Linked DNA regions of Homo sapiens: all the other regions are linked to region 2. Evidence: promoter capture Hi-C in human tissues and cell types (Jung and others, 2019). All regions are on one chromosome and are shown on one strand. The core of a region is centred on a gene start or on the middle of the fragment in contact, and the rest is flanking DNA. Distances in the headings are between cores, read along the strand shown. Region 1 overlaps KDM1A (lysine demethylase 1A). Region 2 holds the start of LUZP1 (leucine zipper protein 1). Region 3 overlaps KDM1A (lysine demethylase 1A).

Region 1 (4,115 bases), core at 1,009-3,508, 110 kb after region 2:
TGTTAAACAGACAGGTAAATGTGTATATATACAATAATCCTTTCCTACATAGCTCAAGAGTTAAGAAACAACCAGAATAACATCACATCATCTCTACCCTCAGTTTATATATATATACACCTCTATATGTGTATATATGTATATGCTCATCCATACCATTCTCCTAAAATTGTTTTCAAGTGAACCAAAGAAATGTTGAAAGTTCTGTTTGTCCTCGACTTACAGCTTGTCCGTTGGCTTCATAAAGTGGGCATTTTTGCTTGATCTTGGCCAGTTCCATATTTACTTGTTTGCTGACCACAGCCATAGGATTCCCTCCTAGAAAAAAACTCAAGCAATTAAATTCAATAGACCTATGAAGAGAGAACAAAAACCTTAAAGTAAAAAATATTTTTACTCAAAATATAAAAAGCTCAAAAGCTTACAGTATGTAATTATTTCTCAAAAAAAAAAGCACTCTAAGTAAAAATATGTAAGACAAACATGAAGGCAAAAAAATTACCTATAATCCCACTAATTAACATTACAGATTCTTCTAGATTTTAAGTGTATAAAATTACAGACCCACACAAAAAAGTATCATAATACGTATTGTTTTATAATATCTTTTCAACTTAGCAATATATTGTGGACATCGTTTTACGCTAATACGGAGCTACATGATTTTTAGTGGCTGTATATTTCTCATCGTATAATATTCTAATCTGTGGTTTCTAATGTTCTGCTATGAAAAACAATACCAGGGATGGGCAAGCTGGCTAATGCCCACAACCTCAACCTTCTGGAAGGCTAAGGCAGAAGAATCTCTTGAGGCCAGGAGTTCAACATCAGCCTGGGCAACAGAGCAAGACCCTGTTTCTATTAAAAACAAACAAGGCCGGGCGTTGTGGCTCATAAAGCTACTAACCTATCTCTTTAGATTTCTAAAGCCATGAAACGTATTTGTAATTACAAGCATAAATTAGTGGGGTTCTTTGTACTTGTCCTATAAGCTTGTTCAAAAGCTAGTTTAAGCCATACATGGTGGCTCATGCTGGTAATCCTAGCACTTTGGGAGGCCGAGGTGGGTGGATCACCTGAGGTCAGGAGTTTGAGACCAGTGCTGTAATTCCAGCACTTTGGGAGCACTGCTTGAGCCCAGGAATTCAGATCAGCCTGGCAATATAGTGAGACCTCATCTCTACAAAGAATTAAAAATTAACCAAGCATGGTGGCCCATGCCTGTACTCCAAGCTATTAGGGAGGCTGAGGTGAGAGGATCCTTTGAGCATGGAAGGCAAAGGTTGCAGTGAGCTGAGATCATGCCACTGCAATCCAGCCTGGGCAAAAGAGCGAGACCATGTCTCGAAACAAACAAAAACAATGCCACGTTAATCATGAGATCAGGAGATCGAGACCATCCTGGCCAACATAGTGAAACCTCGCCTCTACTAAAATACAAAAAATTAGCTGGGTATGGTGGTGTGTGCCTGTAGTCTTAGCTACTCGGGAGGCTGAGGGAGGAGACTGCAGTGAGTGGAGGTCACGCCACTGCACTCCAGCCTGGGTGACAGAGCGAGACTCTGTCTCACAAAAAAAAAAAAAAAAAAAGCTTCAAACACAACATTATCTACTTATCTTCATATGATAATTTCCTAGAACTAGAAAAAGGTACTCTAGGTCAAAAGATATGTACAATTTACATTTTCCACATACTGCTATACCTCTCACTAAACGGAAGATGACTATTCTAAACCAATACATTTTAAAATAGCATCTCTGGCTTTAAATTTCTTTTATGAGTCTTAGACCATGTACTATATAGCACAAACCAATAGCTACTTACCAAGACCTGTTACCACCATGGCTCCAAGATCAGCTACATAGTTTCCTTTGCGAAATGTGGCAACTCGTCCACCCACACGATCCTGTTTCAGAAATTAAGTAGCCAAAATCATCAATTCTGTTTTAACCACAAACCTGGCATAGTACCATACCACGGCTCTGTCTTCTATAATTTAAAAATAAAGATGTAGAGTTTACATGGAATGCAATCAACAGTACTATGGGCACAAAGAACAAATGAAGTTTAACTTGAAGACTATTTGAAGGAGAAGCAGGCAACAAATGACATATAATTAAATGTCATATAACTAAACGACACAGAATTAAATGATGTGATATAAAACAGTCTTGACAGCTGGAAGATAAATTTAGTCACAGGTACCACTCTATCCAGTTGTCTATAATACCTTTTAATGTACAGGGCCACCCATATAGAAAATATTTGTTCACAAATCCCAACACTATTTAAACACCAACTTTCTACCACTGTAATCTGACTCTTACACCCTGATCCCCAAAGTTAGCGGGGAAAAATCTGATGGATAATTTTTCTGACAAATGGTTCTCCAGTGCACCCCCATGCCCAGGGGCAGAGAGTCCATACTGAACATAGCCTGTTCACAATACCTTTTATCCCTAAATAGGCCCAGGTTTATCACTGCTGACGAGGGATTTTCAAGTATGGCTGAGTTGTAGCGATAATTTAATGATTATAAATAATGTAAGAGTACTCTGGAACTCCAAACAAACAAACAAAAATGCAAACAAAACAAAAACCTACATACTAGATTACAAACTCCTCATGGGTAGGAATCAAAATGGTCCTATTATTCCTTATTGTATTTTTTAATACAAAATGTACAAAGTGCACAAAGATGTTTTCTAAATATATAAAATTTTTAATAATAGTATATCAGGAAAATATTTAATTTCAATTTCCCCATACTCTTTTAAAAAATTAGCAGTTCAAAGCCATTAGAAGATCATTAGATTTCAAAAATTATTCATGAAAATAGCTTGAATAGTAGCATCCTAATATGATGCTCTTTTTCCTACTGTGTGCCATTATCCCTTATTGCTCCTCCTGTTTCCATTTCTCTCTCTAGGACTAACAGGAAAAAAACCAGTATCTTGGCTTCTAAAAGATGGTTCCTGCCTGAGAAGCAGCTTTTTTTCTTTATCAAAAACAGGGAATTCACTCTGTTCCACCATCAAAAATAACTGCCTCCTAACAAAGGATATGTCCATGAAGGCCCCAAATTTGAGAGCTAACTACAAGAAATAATGATCTGAAAATATCAGTCAGGAAAAGAAATACTCTAAAACCCTCTTCACAGAGTACTTTTCAAAGCATTCATTAAAAAAAAAAGCTTTTTAAAAATATAAATAACACTATCCAAAATACTCTGAGTATTATACAAATCAATTTAGCTTAGTTCAAGTTGTATAATTCTTTAATTTGCAACAGATAATTTGCTTACCATATTTCCAATAGGTCAAGCCTCTAAACTCAAAATGAAATTCTTACCCTGGCTTCCAAAAGTGTGACATCCATTCCAAAACTTTGTAACTGTCGAGCTGCTGCCAAGCCTGAGACCCCAGAGCCTATAATAATTACCTTTCCTGTCTTTTTAGCTAAAAGCAAAAAATGAAAAAAAAGATTTTGTTTTAGGTATAAAAGTTTGTACTTACAGTCTTATTTCATGAAAACCTCTAGGTTCTTAACATAATAGCTTACAAAGTAAAAAATACAGAGAGTTATTTTCAAAATATGGAAACTACCTGAAAATAAATTAACAAATATCTGAAACTTATGAATTCAAATTCAGTGTCGAACATTTATAAATCAAATCCACTATCTTAAGATTTATTTTCTCATTACCTCAGGCATGTGTTTCAGTATCTGTGATTCTTAGTTAATTTGTTAATAATCTGCTTCATTTACTTCATAATTACATTAGGACACATTCTGCATATAAGCTATTTCCCTTAACCTCTAACCTTGTAGTCTTAAGTCTCCTTTTGAAAAAATGATTAAAGCATTAAAAAATCAACTATTGACAACATAAAGAATGGGTCAATGAGAGAAAAACCTCAGAATGAACTCCTCTCATTTTTAACAAATTGTACTGTTTTATTCTTTTTTTTAAATTGGAAATCCAGTATCTTTTACTAAGTAGCTATCAAACTAGAAATTAAGGGAAATGCACATTTATTAAGAGACTATATTTTTTATTATTTATTTATTATATTTAACTTGACTTTAAGAAGATAAACTTGGAAATATTTTT
Region 2 (4,482 bases), core at 1,136-3,635:
AAAGTCTTCCATATGAAATGATTAGGTGGATTGTTATGAGGTGCTGTGTGGTGTTAATAACTAGAAATAATACTGATTATAGTAGTTATATATAAAAATACATATATAAATCATACAGTAATTATATATATATATATATATTTTTTTTTTTTGAGACAGGGTCTCGATCTGTCACCAGGCTGTAGTGCGGTGGCATTATCATGGCTTATTGCAGCCTCCACCTCCCAGGTTCAAGGGATCCTCCCACCACAGCCTCCTGAGTAGCTGAGACTGCACGGGCACCACCAGGCCTGGCTAATTTTTAGTATTTTTTGTAAAGACGGGGTTTTGCCATGTTGCCCAGGCTGGTCTCAAACTCCTGGACTCAAGTGATCCATCCCCCTGGACTCAAGTGATCCTCCCAAAGTGGTGGGATTGCAGGCATGAGCAACCGCGCCTGGTCAATATAATACTACTGAAAATAAGAATGACAGGGGCCTGATGTGGTGGCTCACGTCTGTAATCCTAGCACTTACGGAGGCCAAGGTGAGTGGATCACCTGAGGTCAGGAGTTCGAGACCAGCGTGGCCAACATGGTGAAACACCGTCTCTACTAAAAATACAAAAATTAGCCAGGTGTGGTGGCAAGTGCCGGTAATCCCAGCTACTTGGGAGGCTGAGGCAGGAGAATCTCTTGAACCTGGAAGGCAGAGGTTGCAGTGAACTGAGATCGTGCCACTGCACTCCAGCCTGGGCGACAAGAGAGAAAATTCGTCTCAAAAAAAAAAAAAAAAAAAAAGAAAGAAAAAGAAAATAAGAATGACAATCATATTGTTCATATTGTTTGTGGAACACTGTGCCTGATGTTTTCCATACAGTATCTTAGGTAATTTTAAAACAAACACCACAAGACTATATTATTATCCCCATTTTATAGATGAGAAGACAGGCTCAGAGATGGCTATTATGACCCCAGAACATATGATCCCAGGGTTTTCTGGCATCAGAGCTTGAGCTCCACAAACATGTGTGGGTTCTGACCTCCAGGAAGTGCTAAGAAACAAATGGGAGGTCAGTTCTTTATAAGTTGTAGTGTTCATGCCCACGTGAGGGTTAAACACAATGTTATTGGTTATTCAGAACAGGGAGGATTGCTTTCTGGCTGGGAGAAGCTGGGAGGTGAGACAGCAGGGGAAGAGCTTCAGCAAAGGGTCAAATGTGGGAAAGCAGTGGGTGTGCTAAGAGAAGTTTGGATAAACTTTGTGTGTGTGTGTGTGTGTGTGTGTGTGTAAAGGTAGGAAGTGATCATACCAGGCCAGGGCTTTGGCCTTTATTCCATAGGCAATAAAGAGCTTACACAAGAGATGTCTCAAGAGACCAACCATGCTGCTGTAGTCAGAGAGGAAGCAGCCCTCAGCCCATCTGTGTCCTGGCTTGTGAATGCTGCTGCGTGCCAGCGTGTGGGAGGGCATCCGCAGCGAGAGCAGTCTCTGGCTGTGTCCTGTACTATGCTGGGTGTGGGTCTTGGGCTGTCTTTGAAGCCTTCCTCCTGGCTTCTCAGGGCACTAGGTGCCTTTTAGATAGTAGACTTAAAGGAAGTATGTCATAGAAGTATGGGAGGGGATTTTGAGATCATCTGGTTATTCCCCCTTCCCATTTTAAAGAAGATGAAAATCGGGAACATAGATGGGAAAGTACTTGTCTAGCATCACACAAAGAATTAATAGCACAGTGGGGGACGGGAACCCATGCCTCCCGAGTCTGAGCTGAGTTCCTTCTCTGCATTTGCAGAGTAATAGAAATAGGATTTGTTGAGTGATTATTCCATATCAGGTTCTAGGCTAAGCACCTTTCCATTGATTATCTCATTTAATCCTCACAACCCTACTGAGAGTGTCCCGCTTTTTTCTTTTTCTTTTGAGACAGGGTCTCACTCTGTCACCCACGCCGGAGTGCAGTGGCACGATCACGGCTCACTGCAGCCTCGACCTCCCTCGGCTCAAGCGATCCTCCTACTTTAGCTTACCGGCGGGCGCCACCACTCCCGGCTAATTTTTGTATTTTTTATAGAGATGGGGTTTCGCCATGTTGCCCAGGCTGGTCTCGAACTTCTGAGTTTAAGCGATCCGTCCGCCTCAGCCTCCCAAAGTTCTGGGATTACAGACTTGAGCCACCACGCGGGCCGAAAGTGTCCCTCCTGAAATCGAGAAGTCTTGTCTTCCATTTCGATTTCCCAGGGCGCCTAGCACAGGACCCAGCTACGGAGGCAATAAAAACTTGGTGGAGTCTAAGTCCTGGGAAGGGAAAAAAAGGACGGAGGGGGCGGGGCCTACAGACAACCCCGCCCATCACAAAGACCCCGCCTTCCAGAACGCTGACGTCACAATTTGGCCCCGCCCCTCATTGTCAGTCCCGCGGAGCCAGAGGAGGCGCCGGTCGCTGGCAGCTGAGCGGCGGAACCCTTCGCTGGCGGGAGCGCGGTTCGGGGCCGCAGAGGTGAGGGTCCGTGAGGCGGCGGCGGCGGGAGCGCGGCGCGGGGAGGGGAGGGCGGCGGGGTTGGGAGGCCGGTCCCGGGTGAGGTCGGGGCACCCGCGGCCACGGGGCAGAAGAAACCGCGGGCGCAGCCGAGGAGAGATGGGGTGTGGAGTTGGGGGAGAGTTGGAATGGATTTTGGAGGAAGGGCTCAGGAGGAGACCTTTTGGGGCGAGACCCAGCACATGTTTGTGGAGTTGGAGGAAGAGACTCTGAGGAGATTTTTCCTCGGGAGGGGGAGGGAAGGTTCTGAGGAGACTTCTTGGTGGGAGCGAGACTCTGAGGAGAAATGTTTGGGGCAGAGACGCGGAGGAGACATTTTCGAGGGGGCGGCGAAGAGTTTCGGGGGTAGAGTTTGGGGTTGGGGGAGGGGGCGCGGGCCGACAGGGGCGGGGGGCGACGAGGCGGCCGTGGAGGGGGCTGCGCGGGGCCCGGCGGGCACCGGAGGAAGGAAGTGATCAGACAGGAAGGGCCCGGGAGCTGCAGCAGCAGGAGGAGGAGGGCGGTTTGGGAGCGCGTCGGGCCGGCGTGCGGGGCCAGCTGCGGGCGCGGGGCGCGGGCCGCGGGCCGGGCGGGGAGGGGTCCCGCGGCCGCCGCAGCTGTCGGCCGCGCCGGCCCGCGTCCCGGGCGCTCTGCTGGTCTCGCAGCCAGACCGCTGGGCCGGGAAGGAATTCGAGGCATTCGCTTTGTTTAAGTTGCCAGTAGACAGTCCTTAGGACTAATTAATGGTGGAATCTGCAGGGGGACGCCGGCGAGCGGGGCCGGGGCCTCCCCCCGCCCGCCGCGGTGAACTTTCCGCAGCGCGGGGCCCGCCTCCCGGCGCACCCCCGGCCCCCGCCCAGCCGCCCGGGCAGGGAAGGAGCCATGGCTTCCCGGAGCGCAGGAATGAAGTGCGGTTTCTGGGGCTGGTGGCCTCTGGCTGCGGAGCCTGCCTGCAGGGAACCTGGCGACCCGCAGCGGCCGCGCTGGGGCTTCGGAGCCCGGTTTAGAGCTCTTGGAGGTGGCTGCGGTTTCTGTGCATAACCTTGGAGGAGCCTCTGTGAGCCGAGAAAGACCATCTTGCTTTGGAGCATCTGTTTCTTCATCGCGTCAACCCCTTTCCTAACACTGCAGAGCTTGTTGTGGCTTGTTTCGGGAATGCCGAGGCCAGTGCTCACCCTTGCGGGTGGGAGAGGGGAAGAGAGTAGGCACCCCCAAAACCCCTGTAGTGTGATTTCCAGAAGGCCAGACTGCCTGCAGCTCCACCGTCGCACCTTCACTGACTTGAATGACCTTGGGAGAAGGATTGCGCTGCTGAGCCCTTGGTGCCTTATCTGTCGTTGGAGGAGAAAATACTCTCTGGACCTCCCTGCCTTTTGGGGATGTTTTGAGGGGTGGGGTTTGCTCAGGGTATTTCTTTTACAGACGGCTGCAGTTCTGGCCTAAGGAGCTGGACTGGTGTCAGAGCCGGGAGAATTCAGATCACCTAATAAGATTTGACTACCTCAAATTAGGGAGGGAGGGGTTTGGATTTTAGGAGGACATTTCTTTTTGGGGAATCTGGAAGGTGTGTTCCAGATTGCCTTCTGTCACCTTGTTTGCAACTTTGGTAGTATTCATGTGGTTAAATTGAATTACCCCCATAGAAAATTCTTCTTTTGTCAGAAATAATTGTTTTGCTCAGAATTCCCCTGGGGGCAGATTAAGGTTTTGCTCAATTTACTCCTAGAAGAATTTACTCCTAGAAGAATTTTCCAGGTTTCTAAAATTAAATCACTTTTCTAAACATAGTAACTAAAGTTTGAAAAGCTGGAAATAGTGAGCTGGGAAGGGAATGGGTTGGAGTATGAAGAAGGCAGCAAACACAGGTTCATTGTTGACCAGTGATTAATAATGCGGATTGTTAATTAGCCTTCGTTGATTATGAGGTGTTTTCTTAATCTTAAATAATTTAAGACCAAGAAAAGGAACTAATGTTGTTGAGTTGCCTAT
Region 3 (4,422 bases), core at 1,640-4,139, 93 kb after region 2:
TCAAAATAAATATGAAAGCTCAGTACATGCTCATTTTCTATGGCTGCAGAACTCGAGAAAATGGCACAACATCTATTCTCACTGTTCTCCGTCTGCCTGCAAAAGGCTCAAGGCTGCAGATCTTCTCAGCACTGTCAACTACAAGCTGCCTCTGATGGGAAAATTAAATGGAAAACTGTTTCACTGATTGTTAGTAAAAAACCAAAACATCTGTGGTGATCTCAGTAACTCCAAGGAAAGGGGCAGCGCAGGGTAAGATTGATGGCTATGTCTCCATTTCTCATGCCTACATAGTCATACATGGGTTCTCAGAGAGGGAGATGACTAGTTATCTTGAGGAGTTCAAAATCCAACAGTTGTCTGCACTTTACATCAAATGTAGCCTGAAACCAGCAATAATAATGAGCATTGAGCCTATCCCCATAGCAAGCACAGGGAAACTCTATCTCTGAAGAAGTCAACTTATTAGCAGGACTGCTCCAGAACTAGGAACCAAACGTAAGCGAATTAGCCCAAATGCATAGAAAAAGCCAAAATGAATCCAAAGACCAAAATGCGGATGGTGAAATATAAGGGGTGGGTCCTAGTGGAGCCCAGGGGCCAAAATCCTGGTATTTATGAATATACTTAACAAAACTAGATCCAAACTCACTGGGTCACCAAAATGGAAAACTTTTTGAGCACTGACATGGTGCTCAAAGGAAATGCTCACTGGGGCATTAGAGATTTCAGATTTTCAGATTAGGGATGCTCGACCAGTAATATCCAACTAGCTCATGCACAAATTGGAAACTCTAAAACTTGCTTCGATTTCCCAGTTTATAAAATGATAGGGTTAGAACCACCAAAGACTCTATAGGCTCAACTGTCTATAAATGCCAATTTTTACCTATGGTGTCATAAACACTCTATCAGGAAATGTACCTGATAGGTCGCACCTAACAAAAGATCAGTCCTGTTTCAGGAGAGTTCTCTCTTACCTTTTGTAAAGCAGTGACATACCTGAAGCCGTGTAGCGAACCTGTCGCACTGCTGTATTCAGTTTAATGTCTAGGCCTTCTGCTAAAGCCACAGGCACACACGAGTAGCCATTCCTTACTGTCAGGTGGCTGCCAGTGAACTCAAAGTCATCATCCTAAAGAGGAGAGAAAAGAACATATTTCCAACCTTTTATTAATCTGTGTCATTTGCACCTAGTTCTGTACAACAACAATGAAAACACAAGCTTGTGGAAACAGTCAATATTTTAAGGCAAACTAAAGAACAAATCACTCAGTATTTAGCTACAGTTACCAAAGGAAACTGAAGGAAAAAGAGAAAACACCAAAAAATGTCCCTAAATCTTCGGGTAGTGAGATTAGGGAAGTTTCTTTTGTCCCTGGATTTTTTTTTTTTTTTGATACAGAGTCTTGCTTTGTCATCCAGGCTGGAGTGCAGTGGCGTGCTCTCGGCTCATTGCAACCTCGGACTCCTGGGTTCAAGTGATTCTCTTGCCTCAGCCTCCCAAGTAACTGCTGGGATTACAGGCATGTACCACCACACCCCGCTAGTTTTTGTATTTTTAGTAGAGACGGGGTTTCACCACGTTGGCTAGGCTGGTCTCAAACTCCTGACCCACCCACCTCAGCCTCCTAAAGTGCTGGTATTACAGGCATGAGCCACCACGCTCGGCCTTCCCTGGATAGTTTTTATCATTCCAGTCCAATACCACTAAGTCCGGATCTTCTATGGTGGTTAGGGTAGGGAGGTGGTAGGGGGAATGATGATTCAGGAAATTCAGATGATTAAACATCATTCAAGTTTATTTATCTGGCTTTTGAATACATTACAGACTTGAAGGATATCAGGGTCACAGTCCTGATTACATTTTCTTTTACCTGAGAGCAAAATCAGTTTTTATTCTTTAAATTTACAGGTTTGAAGTTGAGGAAGATTTCCAAAACTAAGTCAGTCAAACTAGATGAAGGTAATCTAGGACCATAAAGAGTGGCCCAAGACAGTCCATACAGTAAAAAAAAAGTCAGGAATTGACCAGGAATTTAAAGATCCCCAAAATGATCTTACTTCTTTGAATTTACTGAAAATTTTTCTATGTAACATTTTTTTTGTAAGCTGGTAAGGATTTCTAATTTCATGAAATTCTTGGGGAAATTAGATCAAAATACTGGGCTGGCAGCAACACTCTACTTCAGCTGAAATCACTCATTTAAAATTTAATACTATTACAAATAGACACATATTGAAACATCAAATGATAAATCAATGACTAGAAGGGCCTAAGTTAGTATTTACATGAAAAACCACAAAGGAACTGGTAGTTCTGCAAGACTTTATCTCTAACAAGTCCAACTCTTCAAATACTAAAACTATCAGATTATAATCTAAAGATTAAGAAGTCAAAATAATTTTTTTTTTGAGATGGAGTTTTGCTCTTGTTGCCCAGGCTGCAGTGCAGTGGCGTGATCTCGGCTCACTGCAACCTCCGCCTCCTGGGTTCAAGCGATTCTCTTGCCTCAGTCTCCCAAGCAGCTGAGACTACAGGCATGCGCCACCACGCCAGGCTAATTTTGTATTTTTAGTAGAGATGGGGTTTCACCATGTTGGCCAGGCTGGTCTCGAACTCCTGACCTGAGGTGATCCGCCTGCCTTGGCCTCCCAAAGTGCTGGGATTACAGGCATGAGCCACCATGCCCAGCCTGTCAAAATAATTTTTATTAGGAAAATGTATAATGTAAACTAAAATATATAAATAAAAATTTAATAATTTACTTCTATACATTTTTTTTTTTTTTGAGATGGAGTCTTGCTCTGTTGCCCAGGCTGGAGTGCAATGGCGCGATCTCCGCTCACTGCAGCCTCTGCCTCCTGGGTTCAGGCAATTCTCGTGCCTCAGCCTCCCAAGTAGCTGGGATTACAGGTGCCCGCCACCATGCCCGGCTAATTTTTGTATTTTTAGTAGAGACAGGGCCAGGCTGGTCTTGAACTCCTGACTCAATTGATCCTCCTGCTCTGGCCTCCCAAAGTGCTGGGTTTAAAAAGGCGTGAGCCACCGTACCCAGCCTATACAGTCTTAATTCTGGCCAAAGTCTCAGATTTAGAGATTGGTCCAAGAAGCCTTGTGATTTCTCACTTGAAGAGTAAATCACACTGAAATTTAAGAAAAGATGGTATAGCCCTGCTCACTGAGAACTATAAAACATCACTGACATAAACGAAAGAAAACTATTTTTGGAGAAGTATACTGTATTTAAGGATAAGAATATTCAATATTGTTAAGATGGCAATTCACCCTAAATTGACCTAGAAATTTAATGCACTCCTAATCAAAATCCCAGAAGGTGATTTTTGTAGAAATTGACAAGTTGATTCTAAAACTGTTATGGAAATACGTACCTTAAAATAGCCAAAACAATTTCAAAAATGAACAAAGTTGGAGAACTTACAAGACAGTATGATAGTGGCATATGGATAGACAGATAAATTAACAGAAAAGACAACCCTAAATACTCATGCTTACATGCCAATTAATTTTCAACAAAGGTGCCAAGACAAATGAAGAAAAGGATAGTGCTGGAATAATAATTACATAACTATATGGAAAAACATGAACCCTTCACTTACCTTTCCTTAAACATAAAAATTAACACAAAATGGAGTATAGACCTAAACATAAGAGCTAAACCCATACAATTTCTGCAGGAGAACACAGGATAACATCTTTGTGACCACAGGTAAGACAAAGATTCTTTTCAAGATAGAAAAAGAACATGGTTTAAAAGAAAAATTTTATAAATAGGAATGGGAGTCCAAGGCAGGAAGATCACTTGAGCCCAGGAGGTAAAGGCTGCAAGGGAGCCATGATCACACCACTCCAGCCTGGGCAACAAAGCAAGACCTTGTCTCAAAAGAAAAAAATTAAAGTAAAAACTTTTACTCTTTGAGACAGATTTAGAAAATTAAAGACAAGCCACAGATGACAAGGAAATAAATATTTGTAAAACATAAATCTGACAAAGGACTTCTGCCTAGAATTTAAAGAACATAATAAACTTCAAACTCATCAACAAGCAGACAATCAGACTTTTTTAATAGGCAAAAGATCTGAGCAGACATTTACTCAAAGATGACATATGAATGGCTCATAAGCTCAGGAAGAGTTGCTCTACATCACTAGTCATCAGGGAAATGCAAATACTACTATACCTATTAGAATGGCTGACATTTTAAAAACTGGCATTACCAAGATTGGTGAGGATTTGGAGAAAATGGAATTTTCATACATTGCTGATGGGAAGGCAATTTGGAAAATAGTTTGGAAGTTGATTTATAAAGTTAAAAATCCACTTTCCATAGTACCCAGCAATTCCATTCATAAATATTTACTCAAGAGAAAGACATGAACATTCTTAAGCAGCTTCGTTC

What was found. Contacts are between HindIII fragments. The study calls those that stand out against the background at their distance.
Region 1: a contact is called between a fragment that was not itself captured here and the fragment with the promoter of LUZP1 in region 2, in 2 of the 25 tissues and cell types used here (H1 embryonic stem cells and mesenchymal stem cells).
Region 3: a contact is called between a fragment that was not itself captured here and the fragment with the promoter of LUZP1 in region 2, in 10 of the 25 tissues and cell types used here (H1 embryonic stem cells, IMR-90 fibroblasts, adrenal gland and 7 more).

Annotation. Positions count from the first base shown.
Region 1 is chr1:23,055,276-23,059,390 of GRCh38, reverse strand. It overlaps KDM1A (lysine demethylase 1A), which reads right to left. Exons shown (of 21, transcript NM_001009999.3): 7 at 3,353-3,459; 8 at 1,826-1,907; 9 at 224-318. Among named protein-coding and RNA genes, the nearest start is that of MIR3115, 13 kb to the right of the region's middle. The HindIII fragment of the contact is 3,104 bases long and covers 707-3,810 here.
Region 2 is chr1:23,166,759-23,171,240 of GRCh38, reverse strand. LUZP1 (leucine zipper protein 1) reads left to right here and starts at 2,385. Exons shown (of 4, transcript NM_001395462.2): 1 at 2,385-2,475. RefSeq lists enhancers at 1,491-1,540, 2,616-3,147, 3,148-3,679 and silencers at 2,186-2,245, 3,237-3,376. The HindIII fragment of the contact is 15,099 bases long and covers 1-2,593 here.
Region 3 is chr1:23,073,941-23,078,362 of GRCh38, reverse strand. KDM1A (lysine demethylase 1A) reads right to left here. Exons shown (of 21, transcript NM_001009999.3): 16 at 1,003-1,135. Among named protein-coding and RNA genes, the nearest start is that of MIR3115, 32 kb to the right of the region's middle. The HindIII fragment of the contact is 6,172 bases long and covers 1-4,422 here.